3 separate regions of the Homo sapiens genome follow, and regions 2 and 3 are each linked to region 1. Evidence: promoter capture Hi-C in human tissues and cell types (Jung and others, 2019). All regions are on one chromosome and are shown on one strand. Each heading gives the region's core, a stretch centred on a gene start or on the middle of the fragment in contact. The rest is flanking DNA. Distances are from core to core; before and after follow the strand shown. Region 1 holds the start of ZBTB7C (zinc finger and BTB domain containing 7C). Region 2 overlaps SMAD2 (SMAD family member 2). Region 3 has its middle 78 kb from the start of SMAD2.

What was found. Contacts are between HindIII fragments. The study calls those that stand out against the background at their distance.
Region 2: a contact is called between a fragment that was not itself captured here and the fragment with the promoter of ZBTB7C in region 1, in 1 of the 25 tissues and cell types used here (heart left ventricle).
Region 3: a contact is called between a fragment that was not itself captured here and the fragment with the promoter of ZBTB7C in region 1, in 2 of the 25 tissues and cell types used here (dorsolateral prefrontal cortex and heart left ventricle).

The regions. Positions count from the first base shown.
Region 1 is chr18:48,407,467-48,411,879 of GRCh38, reverse strand. ZBTB7C (zinc finger and BTB domain containing 7C) reads left to right here and starts at 2,497. Exons shown (of 5, transcript NM_001318841.2): 1 at 2,497-2,654. RefSeq lists a silencer at 1,329-1,708 and enhancers at 2,979-3,596, 3,597-4,216. The HindIII fragment of the contact is 7,054 bases long and covers 1-4,413 here.
Region 2 is chr18:47,921,122-47,925,534 of GRCh38, reverse strand. All of the region lies in intron 1 of SMAD2 (SMAD family member 2), which reads left to right. Among named protein-coding and RNA genes, the nearest start is that of SMAD2, 7.3 kb to the left of the region's middle. The HindIII fragment of the contact is 8,124 bases long and covers 1-4,413 here.
Region 3 is chr18:48,006,424-48,010,836 of GRCh38, reverse strand. No RefSeq gene overlaps it. Among named protein-coding and RNA genes, the nearest start is that of SMAD2, 78 kb to the right of the region's middle. RefSeq lists silencers at 2,437-2,486, 2,497-2,606 and an enhancer at 2,282-3,195. The HindIII fragment of the contact is 4,020 bases long and covers 1-3,780 here.

The DNA of each region.
Region 1 (4,413 bases), core at 1,248-3,747:
TTACGCTATTCCATGAGCTAAAGCTATAGAACATCTACTTTGAGCCAGAGAAGAGAGGAGAAACTTTCTGATTTAGAGCCACATTTATATTAGAGTCTATTTACTATTTACTAGACTCTTTACTATTAGAGTCTAATTTACTGCCCACATCCCTCTTTTCTCAACCTAAATGCCCTTTTTATGGCTGTAGCTGCCCTCACCCCCAGAACTACATTTCTATTTCCTGCAGGTGTCTGGGCATTTGCAGGGCTGGGATCCTCTAGGTGCTCTCTAAATGCATCCGCATGCTTGGCATGAGGCGCAGCCAGACTTATGGCTTAGAAGCGGGGCCATATCAGCTGGGTCAGCAGCATTCCAAGTAACTGAAAACCCTTTAATGAAGGGAAGCAAGACAGGCAACTTAATTTAACAGAGAGACAAACCTAATATGAGAGGGCAGTGGCTGCCACAGCTGCTGAAAGCGAGATATATTATTTTGCCATTCTGGAAGCTTTAGCAACTTGGAAATCTGACATCCTGAGCCTGAACATACCTTAGGTTCCACGATAGACTATCCTAGATTTACATGTGCATTTGAATAGTTTGGATAAGATGGCTGTCCAAACTGTTCATTTGGTGAAATTTACTTAGTAGGAAAAACCAGATCTCTTTGGCAAATTAAACGTGACATAATTGTACCCAAACCCTACGTTTCAGATCCCTCTATTCATATCTAGTTTTCCACTCTTACATCCTATTCCAGAGCCCGTTTTCCCTTGTTTTCACTACTCCCAACGTACTATCTTGCAATGTGCGTTTATTACACGAATGAATGAAATGGTTTAAAAAAAAATCCCAATAAGTGATATTAGGAAGAGGCACCAAAGGTTCACAAACTTATTTTTGTGAATTCTGTAAAAAATGTCATCCAGTGTCTTCAGCATTAAAGGACACAGCAGCAGCCCCACTGCCCTTTTATTAATCCGTAGCCAGAATGGGCACTAGGCGGCCGGGATTCGCCATCTCGCCTCTCCTGGGCGCCAGGTGCGCCTCAGATAAGCGCAGCCGGGTAGGAGTTTGAGGACGACAAACTTTCCCGCTTCTGAGGGAGGAGCCCCGGAGAGGACCCGCTGACGTGCGAGGGTGCTGCCTCCGATGTACTACCAAGGAGGGCGAGGGTTCCTATGTCTGTCTGGAGCGCAGAGGGGTGGACTGCAAAAAGGTAGGAGGCAAAGCCAGCTCGAGTTTCCCCGGCCCGTAGCTGGAGGGAACATCTGCCCAAGTGTCGCCTCGCCCGAGAACGCTCACGCCCTCTCCAGGGCCAGGACCCTTCCTCCTCCCCTCGCACTGGCCCTTCGTGGCTTCCAGCACCGCTGAGCACTCGGCGTCCCAGCGAGATTCTCCTGCCCCGACAGACTCCGAGGGGGCGGGGCCCGGCGGGACGGGGCGGGGACAAGCCCTCCCCGGGCCCGCCCGTTGGCATTGTTGCGCGGTGATTGGACGCTTCGGAAGGCCGCCTTCCAGGCCGACCCGGGGAGTGACGGGCGGCCAGCGGCTGCTCCCCGGCGTGTGGGGTGCGGAGTGCGGGGCCCAAGGCTCCAGAGGGGTGGGGACTCCGGGCCGCAGCGCCGCCGAGCGCGATTGCCCGCTGAGATTCGGCGCCCCGGGGTGCGGCAAGCTTGCGGTTTCAGGTGCTGGCTAGGCGTCTTGGTGCGCTCGCTGGAGTGCCGAGAGCATTTGGGAAACTTAACTTCTCGCCCCCACTCCTTGCTCCCGACTTTCGGGTAGAAAAGCAGTTGCCGAGTTGTTTTATTTCCTCCCCCATCGGACTCTGTAAAAATAGCCGTGCGCCGGGGCGGCAGAGCCCATCTCTGCCGCACCGCTGCCCCGGGTCGGCAGAGCCCATCTCTGCCGCACCGCTGCCCCGGGTCGGGTGTGGACCTAAAAATACCCGGCGGTCCCAAGCCTGCGCTGGGGGTGCGGGCGGGTCCGGCCGGGCCGCAGAGGGCGTCAGGAGACCGGAGAAACGGCGGCCGCCTGGCCCCCTCGCCTCTGCCGGGGCTGTCCCTTTAAATCCTGGAGGAGGCAGAGAGAAAAAAGGAAAGAAAGAGAAAAGACGCGGAGCCCCGAGCGGTTGGTGGCGGTGCCCGGCCCCCCCACTCCGCCTCCGCGTCGGGTCCTGACTCCCGCCCGCAGCCTCCGCCAGTCCCGGGCGCCCCCCGCCGCGCCGCCCACTCGCCACAGTTACTGTCAAAATAGAAATTAGCGGAGCCGGGCGGGGGCTGCGGCGCAGCAAGTGCATGTGCCGCGCGGCGGGGAGGGGGCGGGCGCGAGCGACAGGCGACCGCACACATCCGGGCCCTTTAGCCCTGTGCGCCCCCCGAGCCGGCGGCGCGGGCGCGGGGCGCGGGGCGCGGGGCTGACAGCCGCGGCGCGGGAGGCGGGGCGCGGGGAGGGCGGAGGCGCGGCGCGGGGAGGGAGGAGCTGCCCGCTCGCCCGCTGCCGCCGCTCAGCTCCATACCCGCCGGCGCAGCCCCGCCACGAGACTCTGACAGCGGCGCGGCCGGCGAGGCTCGGGCGCGCAGGGACCGGCGGACACCGGCGGCGAAGGAGGACGCCAGGACTGCGTCCCGGAGCCAAGTGCGGGAGGCGCGCAGGGCCGGCGGCGCGCGGAGGTGAGCGGCTTCGCGCGCCGGGCTCGGGCGCCGGCTGCCGGGGTCGCGATCTCCACAGCACCTCGGCAGCCGAGGCAGTTCGGGAGGTCGCGGGGCGGCGGGCGGGTGGCTTTGCTTGGGCTGCGCCGGAAAGCGATTGCGGGGGCCGTTGCTAGGAGGCCGGCGGTCCGCGCGCCTTGGGGCGCCGGCTGGAGCAGGGGCGCCCTCCGCGCGGTGGGCAGGAGGCGGGGGGCTGCGGTGGCTATTCAGGGGCTCCGTGCGGCAGCCATGCAACGGAGGAGGCGGGAGGAGGGAGGGAGGGAAGGAGGGAGGGGAGAGCCAGCGGAGAGCGAGCCAGCGAGCGGGCGCCGCGCCTCCTGGCTGGCACCGCGGCCCGGAGCGAAGTGGCGCGCGGGGCTGGAAAGGAACTTCTGCGGGCGCGTGCGGCCCGGGGCTCGGCGGCGCCTGCGGGCCCGAGCGGGGCGGGCCCGTCGGCAGCCACAGGTGGTTTCTGCCAAAAGTTTTACCGCACTTCTGCCTGGAAGGCGCGGGAGCGTTTTGGTGAGTGACGTTTTCCTGGGACTTTTGCAGTCTCACTTCGCGCTGTCTTTTCTTGAAAATTGGAAAATGAGCTGGAAAGGCTGGGATCCAGCACCTCTCGATGAGATCTGAGCAGAGTACAGTCCTTGCCCGAGGTGTCGCTCATGCAGGACTCAAAGATCCTTGCTGCTGTCAAGTCGGGAAGCTGGGGGAAATGGGCGCACGCACACAGTTCCTCCAAGCCTCGGACAAGTGAAGCCGAGCCTGGCCCGGTGCCTGTCGCCGCGCGGGGTAGTGCGAGGTCTGTTCCCAGCGACACGCACGGGAACTGCGTGCGTCTTCTCTCAAGGTGTGTACGTCTCTTGCTCCGTTGAAAGCGAATTGTCTCTGGCCGCTGTGCTGCTTTGTTTTTCCGGTTGCTTGTCTGGTTTTACTAGGATGAAGGCCAGGAGGAGCCAAAGAAAAGCGAAGCGGCAGCTCCCGTTATCTTTGCAATCTGCAAAGCTGTGGAGGCTGGTACCCAACCTTCCGCGGCGCGGGCGCAAGGCCGAGGGGAGCTGGGGGTGGGTGGCGTGCGCTGCCTGTATGGGAAGTCTCGCTGGACCATGCGCAAGGCTAGAGCCGGAGTTTCTGGTGCTTCTAGGACAGAAAGAGGAGTGGGAGTGGGAAGGGAAGACCCCTTAAAAGAAGATATACTGTGCCCAGACCTGGGAGAGAGGCTCCGAGAAGTCCGGTGGCTTGGCCCTGTTCTTCATTGGCGGGGTTGAGGAATCCAGGGCAGCGAGGTAGAAACACCTCGGTAGGTCGTCCTGGGCTGAAAGAAATCATTATTCCCAGAGCGGGCCAGATACCCGGGTGTTGAAACTAGGTACAAAACTGCGTGAGAGGTGGAAACTCTCAGTCCTTCATTCTCCTTGGTCCGGTGGCTCCCGCTCCCTGCCCCCACAAGTACATGAGCAAAAAGCATGCCCTTTGCTTTATAGAAGGTCATAGGATTTTGAAGTTGAAAGAGACCCTAGAGATATTAGGAGCACTCATTTTACAGATGAGCAAACTCAGGCCCAAGGAAGGAAAGTGACCTGCTACAGTGGCTAGAGGCCCAGTGAGACTAGAAATGACATCAGCCTTCCAGGCAAGGGTGGAGAGACTTCCCTGGGCAAGGCCTGGTAGGGCTTGAGATCAGAAATGCCACCCCCACACCCCAAGCCCATCATGGCCTCTTTATCTGGTACTTTCTAAA
Region 2 (4,413 bases), core at 1,425-3,924, 490 kb after region 1:
TTTCATGTAGGGAGAATATAATTTTTCCAAGCCAGGTGGATTTAGACACTGCCTTTAGTTTGGTCAGATAGCCAGAAATATTAGGGCAATTCTGTGTCTTCTGTGCTTGCCTCACATTGTACAGTGTGAGTGGTTCTCCTTGGCTCAGTGGGTTCCTCTTATTTGTAACTGAGGCACATTGATAGGACAGGTGCTTGATGTATCTTTAGGTTTGTAGTCTTAAGAAAATAGAAATTCTGACGTGATTAATTCTTATCAAAGTTTGTGAATTTACTGTGAAATTGTCACTAATTATCCTAGGTAGCCCTGTCATTTTTCAAAATCTGGTTTTACATTGGCCTCAAGGCTGTAGAGTAGTGGAAAGCGAGGATAGACTTTAGTTGCTTCTGTTTAGTACACGTGTCTACCTTAATGTAAAAATTTGCATTTCCTTGAATAATCTACAGTGTCATACCTTCCCTCATTTTGTGGGGAAGGGGGATGTAGTTTCACATTTAATGTATTCAGTAGGAATAATCTTGGGTGAACCACTGGTATTCCATCTGTTCATTAGTTTGAGTCTCTTAAGTCAAAAAAGACTCTTGATCTGAGGAAGTAGCATAGTGAATCTGTGATCTTATAGTTTGCCTATGTTTAAAAGTAAACTACATTTTCATATGCTGCTTCAGCTACTTCCAGAAATTCTGTAGAGACATAATGGTTAAGGTCTTGTAAATATCAAGGAAACGTTCCATCCTCATCACGTCTTTCATTTCAGAATGTGAGGTGGTGAGGCCGGAGGCAGTGGCTCACGCCTGTAATCCCAGCACTTTGGGAGGCTGAGGCGGGCGGATCACTTTGAGGTCAGGAGTTTGAGACCAGCCTGGCCAACATGGTGAAACCTTGTCTCTACTAAAAATGCAAAAATTAGCTGGGTGTGGTGGCGGGTACCTGTAGTCCCAGCTGCTCAAGAGGCTGAGGTAGGAGACTTGCTTGAACCGGGGAGGCCGAGGTTGCAGTTAGCCGAGATCCCGCGACTGCTCTCCAGCCTGGGAGACAGAGCAAGACTCCGTCTCAAAAAAAAAAAAGAAAAAAAAGAAAATGTGGGGTGGCAAATCTTTTTTGCAGAGCCTCCTATATAAAATCCTCATAAATGATGCAGTGGAAGCTGGGCCCGTGAGCCTTCTGCCTTGACTTGAGTGAACTATTGAAACTCTTTTGTTGACTAGAGATACTTTATCTGTGGTAGTAAATGTAAATTTTCCTTATTGAGATCCACTTTTAAAATTCTTTTTTTTTTTTTTTTTGAGACGGAGTTTTGCTCCTGTTGCCCAGGCTGGAGTGCAGTGGTGCGATCTTGGCTCACTGCAACCTCCGCCTCCTAGGTTCAAGCAGTTCTCCTGCCTCAGCCTCCTGAGTAGCTAGGATTACAGGCATGCGCCACCATGTCCGGCTAATTTTGTATTTTTAATAGAAACGGGGTTTCACCATGTTGGTCAGGCTGGTCTCGAACTCCTGACCTCAGGTGATTCGCCCACCTTGGCCTCCCAAAGTGTTGGGATTACATGCGTGAGCCACTGCGCCCGGCCTAAAATTCTTAATAGACAGGTAGTTAGGTTGTAGTTCATGTTAGCTGATCAATTAAACTTTTTTTTAAAAAATGTTTTAGTTATCAGGAGGGTCCAGCTTTGGCCTGAGGTTGTGCATTGGCCATTTCTGCTCGAAACCAGTAGTAGTCAGACTTAAAACATGTGCACACCTGCACACACAGCAGCAACTAGAAAGCCTTTAGAGAGAAATATGCAGAATTTCGAAATGTAAAACAGATAAAAGGAGTAAAGCTGTTTTGTGGAAGGAAGAATAGGCAGTTGTTGAAGTCCTGCCTGATCAGTTTTCCTCTCATCCTCACCACCAGGAAGCCTTTGAAGCACAGCTGAAGAACAGTAGGTCTTGGAGAAATTTTTGCTGTAGACCTGCTCTATCTTAACAGGTAGCTGCCAGCCACATGTGGCTATTTAGCACTTGAAATGTGGCTGCTGTGACTGAGAAACTGAATGTTAAATTTTACTTAATCTAAATTTAGATAGCCATATGCAGCTGATGGCTACTGTATTAGACAGCACAGATACCCAAGGACATTTACATCATTGTATAAAGTTGTGTTGGGTGGCACTACTCTAGACTTTGCTTTAATTGAGCTTTTATGGCCTGAGGACCCCACTCACGTGAATTGACGTGGTATTAGTTGCTGCTTCAGAAGAGGGTCAGGATAGACTTTGGGAATTTGAAGAGCAATTAGAGTACTTGTACTTTATATTTGTGCTGATTTGAGTCTGGGCCTGTGTAGTGTTGTCATAGGTGCTTTTTTTTTTTTTTTAATAATCTGGGAATGATAAACCAATATGTAAGTTACGTGTTTACAAGTTGATTATAGAGTTGTGGATTCCACAAAACTCATTATAGGTGATAGGAATATAACTCTTAGTTAAAAAAAAAAAAATAAGTAGTCTCTTTACACAGCAGTCCCTATTTAATGTGGACTTTTGCTAAAATAATAATTTTCTTGAATTAAATTCAAGCTTGCATTAGGTTTGACAGTCCATAAAGTTGAACACATGAATGTTTTCTGTTTGCTTTTGTTTAAAAGACATGACCCATCATTCTCCATGGGGGCCGACCTAGGTTTCCAGTTGGCAGTGTCTTTCCTTACTAGCTTACGCTTTGGAGAGAACATAGTTGTAGTGAGAATTGAAAAATCTGTTTTTAAAAAATTGGGTTTTATGTATTTTAATTTTTTTGAGGTTTTCTATTATCCTGGTTACTAATGAATTATTTATTTGACTAAAACAGTTATACAATTCCAGGTCATTGATGCTGCTGTTTTTTTCTCTGCCTTGTAGTATGTTTGAACATAGATTGCTAAAAATCTCGGTCTCCACAGAGGATTGGTTCCGGGACTCTCCTGCAAGCACCAGAATATGAGAACGCTGAAGTCCCTTGTATAAAATGGTGTAGAATTTGTTTTATGCACATTTTATTGTTATTCTTTAAATCCTCTCTAGATTACTTAATATCTAATACAATGTAAATAGTTGTTATTCTATATTGTTTTAGAAATGATGAGAAAAAAGTCTGTACATGTTCAGTACAGTCACAGTTTTTTCCTGAATATTTTTTATCCATGGTTGGTTTAATCCATGTATTTGGAACCCACAGATAAGGAGGATTGACTGCACAGTGATTTTATATTATTTCTAGTGGGACCTTAGATGTTCTAGATGAGGCAGCACCATCATATTTAAAGTATTTTTGTTGAAATAATTAACTTTGGTTTTCTTTCTAAATAAAAATTCACATAGGTATTTGGGGAATATTTTGTATTTTCCTGCAGTTTGAAGATTTGAAATTTCTCTTCCCTCCATACCTTTTAAAAGTGCAATCTACTTTTGCTTTCTACATTTAATCACTATCTGTTCTTGACTTCAACTTTGCAAACATATTTTTTAACCATTCTTTTTCACATTTCCCTTCCTACTGGCCTTCCGGATGAACTGTCAAGTTTAGCAGTCTTTTCTCAGTGATCATACTTTCTTCAGTGTTTGCTGTTATTGTTTATACTGTCTTTATCTAAATTTCTTAAAATGACACAGACACAAGTTAGGCCCATTCTTCTTACTGTAAACAGATGAAAATGTTGGATAAAATATAAAAGTTTTCTCTTATGTATACAGTTGATCTTGAGAGAGAAAGTGCCCAGGTACTAGAAACTTAGAAAAATCAGTCAACTTTAAGGGAAGTGTGGCCTTGGGGGATTTACTAGAGATAAGATTCAGTAGTTGGGGCTGAGGTTATAATGCCATTCAATGAAAGGAGACAGAACTGTGGGAACTGTGTGCTTAAAAAAATTAAAAAATGAAAAGTGTTCTGGTATCATTGAAACATCTGGGGCTTCTTGGAGAAAGAAGCCTCAGACCTCTCTATGGAGGAACTGGAAAAACAGTAGGCTTTAGATGGACTTTAATATCACAGCAAGGCAAGGCAGGGTACATGAAAACATCTACAGCTGCATGTGGAATAGTGAATTTTTGTATACATAATCCATGACTGCAATCCAAAATTCAGGGATACCCAGTGAAGAGTCTCTTTACTGGTCTGTTCTTTGCCATACAGTTGCCTTTTCAAAGGCAAGTAGCTTTACTAGGTTTTTGTGTGGTGTTCCAGAGATTTTATGCATCTATGAACAATTTTGTGTGTATATTACCTTTTAGTACAAGTGGTCACATATGTCACTTAATAGTACATCTTATTTTGTGTCAGTATGTAATGAATGCCTTTCTTCTTTTTTGGAGTAGTGGGTTGTATAATATTCTTTTGTATGGGTGTCTGTAAATTTTTTTTTGAGACAGTGTCTCACTCTGTCACCCAGGCTGGAGT
Region 3 (4,413 bases), core at 521-3,020, 400 kb after region 1:
CACTCGGGTCCTCCTCCTGCTGTCTCTCTCCCCACGGGTCAGGAGTCCACAAGGCAGGGTTGGCAGATAAAATACAGGATGCCCAATTAAATTTGAATTTCAGATAAACAAATAATTTGGGGGGTATAAGTATACATTTGGGACATACTACTATTAAAATATTATTTGTTGATTATTGATATGGTTTGGCTGTGTCCCCACCCAAATCTCATCTTGAATTCCCACATGTTGTGGGAGGGGCCTGGCTGGAGGTAATTGAATTATGGGGGCAGGATTTTGCGTGCTGTTCTTGTGAGAGCCAATAAGTGTCACCAGATCTGGTGGTTTTAAAAAGAAGAGTTCCCCTGTACAAACTCTGTCTCGTTGTCTGCTGCCATCCATGTAAGACATAACTTGCTCCTCCTTGCCTTCTGCCATGATTGTGAGGCTTCCCCAGCCATGTGGAGATGTAAGTCCATTAAACCTCTTTCTTTTGGAAATTCCCCTGTCTTGGGTATGTCTTATCAGCAATGTGAAAACAGACTAATGCAATTATCTAAAATTCAAATTTAAATGGGTGTCCTGTGTTTTAATTCAGCGGTCCCCAACTTTTTTTGGCACCATGGGCCAGTTTCACGGAAGACAATTTTTCCACAGACAGGGCACAGGTTTGGTTTCAGGATGAAACTGTTCCACCTCAGATCATCAAGCATTAGTTAGATCCTCATAAGGAGCAGGAAACCTAGATCCCTCGCATGCACAGTTCACAATAGGGTTCTCGCTCCTATGAAACTCTAATGCCTGATGATCTGACAGGAGGCAGAGCTCAGATAGTAATCCTCATCCACCTGCTGTTCACCTCCTGCTATGCAGCCCACTTCCTAACAGGCCATGGACCAGAATAGGTCCACGCCCAGGGGTTGGGGACTCCTGTTTTAATTTACTAAATCTGGTAACCCTAGCACAAAGTCAAGGGACATGCCCACCTGGAGCTCATGCCCTCCCTTTCGGATCATGCTTCAGGTACCCAGGGCCCTGCCCAAAGGTCCTGGGGCCCACATGGACGAAAATTATTATCTGAGCTCTGCCTCCCGTCAGGGGCCCACTTTAGGGCCTCTGCAGGTCCTCTTCCCGCAGCTGTCTGCTCTCACCAGTGTACACACTACCGGGCCTGAGGATTAGCCTGGGGGGTGTTTGGCTCTCGGGTGGGGATGGAGCTTGGGCTGCAGGCTGGGTGTCCATGCCTGCTCTGCAAGATCCTTACGGCGAAGTCAGAGCCTGGGCTAGGGAAAGGAAGGGGCAGACCACCGACCAGGGCTTCCATCTGTACTTCCGCCCAGCCTAGTAATGTTTCAGCAGGCCTGGCAGCAGGCACAAATGGCTCCTCCCAGAAGCCAAGCAAGGCAGTCCACACCTGTCACTCCTTACCCACTTCCCGCCTGCAGAAGTGTCCAGGTAGAGGAGTGGAGTCCCCTGAGGGAGCCTGTTTGCTGGCCAGGGTGGGACAGCGCTGTGGTCATGCCATTACTGGCTTCATTGTTCAGGAGAGTATCCCAGGCCAGGGTTGCAGGAAAACTGGTAGCCGATTGGAATTTAGTGGCTTTCCTATCAGGAAGCTGACAGGGCCCTGGCAACATCCCTGAGCCTCAGTGTCTTCAAGGGCAAAAGGGGAAGAGTTCCTACCTCTTGGATGGTTGTGAAAATTAGCATGATTCCATAAAACTATGGAGACAGTAAAAAGAGCAGGAGTTGCCAGGAGTTGGAAAGACGGAGGGTTGAATTTCTGGAGCAGTGAAAATGCTGTGTGATACCGGAATGACATGGCCTTACACATGTCATACCCATGGAGTGTACAGCACCAAGGGTGAACCCTAAAGAAAACTGTGGACTTTGGGTGACCCTGATGTGGCAGTGTAGGTTCACAATGGCAACCAATGCATGCCCTGGTCTGGAGGTCGAGAGTGGGGGAGGTTGTTCGGGGGTGGGTACAGGGGGGAAATGAAACTTTTTGTACTTTTGGCTCAATTTTATTGTGAATCTAAAATTGCTTGAAAAAAATAACGTCCATTAACTTTAAAAATGAGGTGTGGTAAAGAACGGACGAGTGCTTACACACAGTCATTCAACAGACATTTACTAAGTGCCTACGACGCGTCTGTATTTCTACAGGACCACTAAGCGTGAAGCAGGTAGAGTGAGACTTAGGACCCCGGGAGAAAAACCGCCCCTGGAGGGCGCGCCACGGGTGTGCGGTGTAGACGCGGGCGGGCCGGCGGCGGAGGAGGAGGTCCCGGCGCCGACCCCTGGAGCGGAGGCAGCAGCCGGGCGCAGCGAGACAAGTAGGCTGGGCTGGCCTGGCCGGCCAGGTGCGGGGAGGAGGCTCACAGACTGCGGCTAAGCCTGAGTCCGAGCCCAGCTGCGAGGCGGGGGCCGGGGCATGGGAGGAGGAGCGGGGAGGAGCCGGGAGGGGCGGGGGAGGTGGCCCGGGGGCGCGCCCCACCCCCAGCCCTGGCCCCCGCCCCCGGCCCAGCGCCCCCGCGTGGCCGCCGCTCGCAGTGCGCAGCGCAGGGAACAAAGCCCGCGGCGGGGCGGGGTCGGTTCGGCGGCTGGGTCCGGGCACCGGGATTCTGGGAAGCACCGACGCCCGAAACAAAAGCAGCTGTGCTTCTAGGCACGCTGTTGGAGATTATTCCGAGGAGCGCAAGCTGGGAGGGAATGAGGCGCTGTGACACCCCCTTCCCATTGGCAAAGGTTGCTTCCCCAGCCCCACAAAGCTCCATTCCGAGCGCTGGGCTGGCAGAGACCCGACTCCCGGCCGAGATGGACTGGAGAGGGGAAGAGCACAGGGCTAGGGAGCGGAAGCTTCGGGTCACTCTACAAAGTCCCGCAGAATGGTGCTTGCGGAGAGCACAGAGGGGATGGCCCCAGAAGCCCCACTCTCGGAGGCTGTGATGTGGACTGAAGTTAGTAGTGGGGCAGAAAAGCACATGGAGGAGCGTCCGGGCCCCCAGGCTCGCGGACCTGCAGTCAGCTGGAGAGGGTCAGAACAAGGGAGTCTCTCTGCTCTGAGACCCCTCAGCACCCCTCACTCTGCTGGGTCCCATGGTCCCTGCCATCTCCTGCCCGCAGAGGCTACCTTTACTCAGCACCACCCTCCTCATGGGCAGGGGAGGAGATGCCACTTTCCCCTATAAAACATCCCAGAGCTGCCTAAGGTGGCAAAGGAAGGAGACCCTGGTGAGGACAGGCCCTCAGTGCCACTCCTGCTCCAGTGCCCTGGCCCGAAGCTGAGCATGGACCTCAGCCTGAACCCAGGTGTTTGGCTGAAACCCGGCCGGAGCATCCACTAACACCTCAACGGGGGTCAAGAATGATGGGGGGAAACAGAGGCAGACCCTCCTGAATCCAGACCAAGCTTGTCCAACCCGCGGCCTCTGGCCGCGTGAGGCCCAGGATGGCTTTGAATGCGGCCCAACACAAATTCGTAAAATTTCTTCAAACAGTACGAATGTGTTTTTTTGTGATATTTAAAAAGTTACTCAGCTATCGTTAGTCTTAGTGTATCTTATATGTGGCCTAAGACAATTCTTCTTCCATTGGGACCCAGGGAAGCCAAAAGACTGGACACCCCTGATCTAGACCCTCTGCATTTGCAGACACTGCCTGTCTGGTCAGCTCCATGGGCCCATTTATCTTTGCGCCACAGCCCACTTCCCAGTGGGCCACAGCAGGTCCCCTTCCGCCTCCCAAGGCCAGTCCCAAGAAGGAGACGTCCAGAGAGTCTCCTAGGATTACCCACCTTTTTCCCAGAAACTGACACGCTGAGGGTGGCCTTGTAGAGTCCAGCAGGACACTCACTTCAGCCCAGGGAACACACGGAGTCGGCCAAATCAGTCAGGGATGTGGACTCATTCCTTCCACACAGTCCTTGGTGGTGGGGATCCGCTCTTCACCAACTCACTTGTGCTTCTACACAGGGCACCTGTGGCCAGCATTTCCAAGGAGGATGCTGGTGGTGCACCCCCTGTGGACAAGACGCTGTGGGAGCACTTTACATCATCCTATCCAGCCGAGTGGCTTCCCTCCCGCACAGCAGCCAACCTGTCTCTGGTCTCATCCTAAGCCCGGGGCAGTTTCCCTCAATCCTGCCTGCTATCCCTGTTTCCACTTCTAACCTCAGACACAAGCTTCTTCATCTGGTGGTGGTTTTCTTAAAATTACGACCCATACCTCATTATCTGCTGAGGCTGCAACTTGAAAGCTTTGGAGAAAGCACCAGCAGGGTGGTATTAACAGTTGATTAAATACAGTTGTTGTCATTTGCATTATTGCTGCAAACTCCTAGACATCAGGTCTTTGGTTAAGAAGTCATCTCCCTACACTTATATATTGTTAGTGGGAATATAAATTAGTCCAGCCACTGTAAAAAGCAAT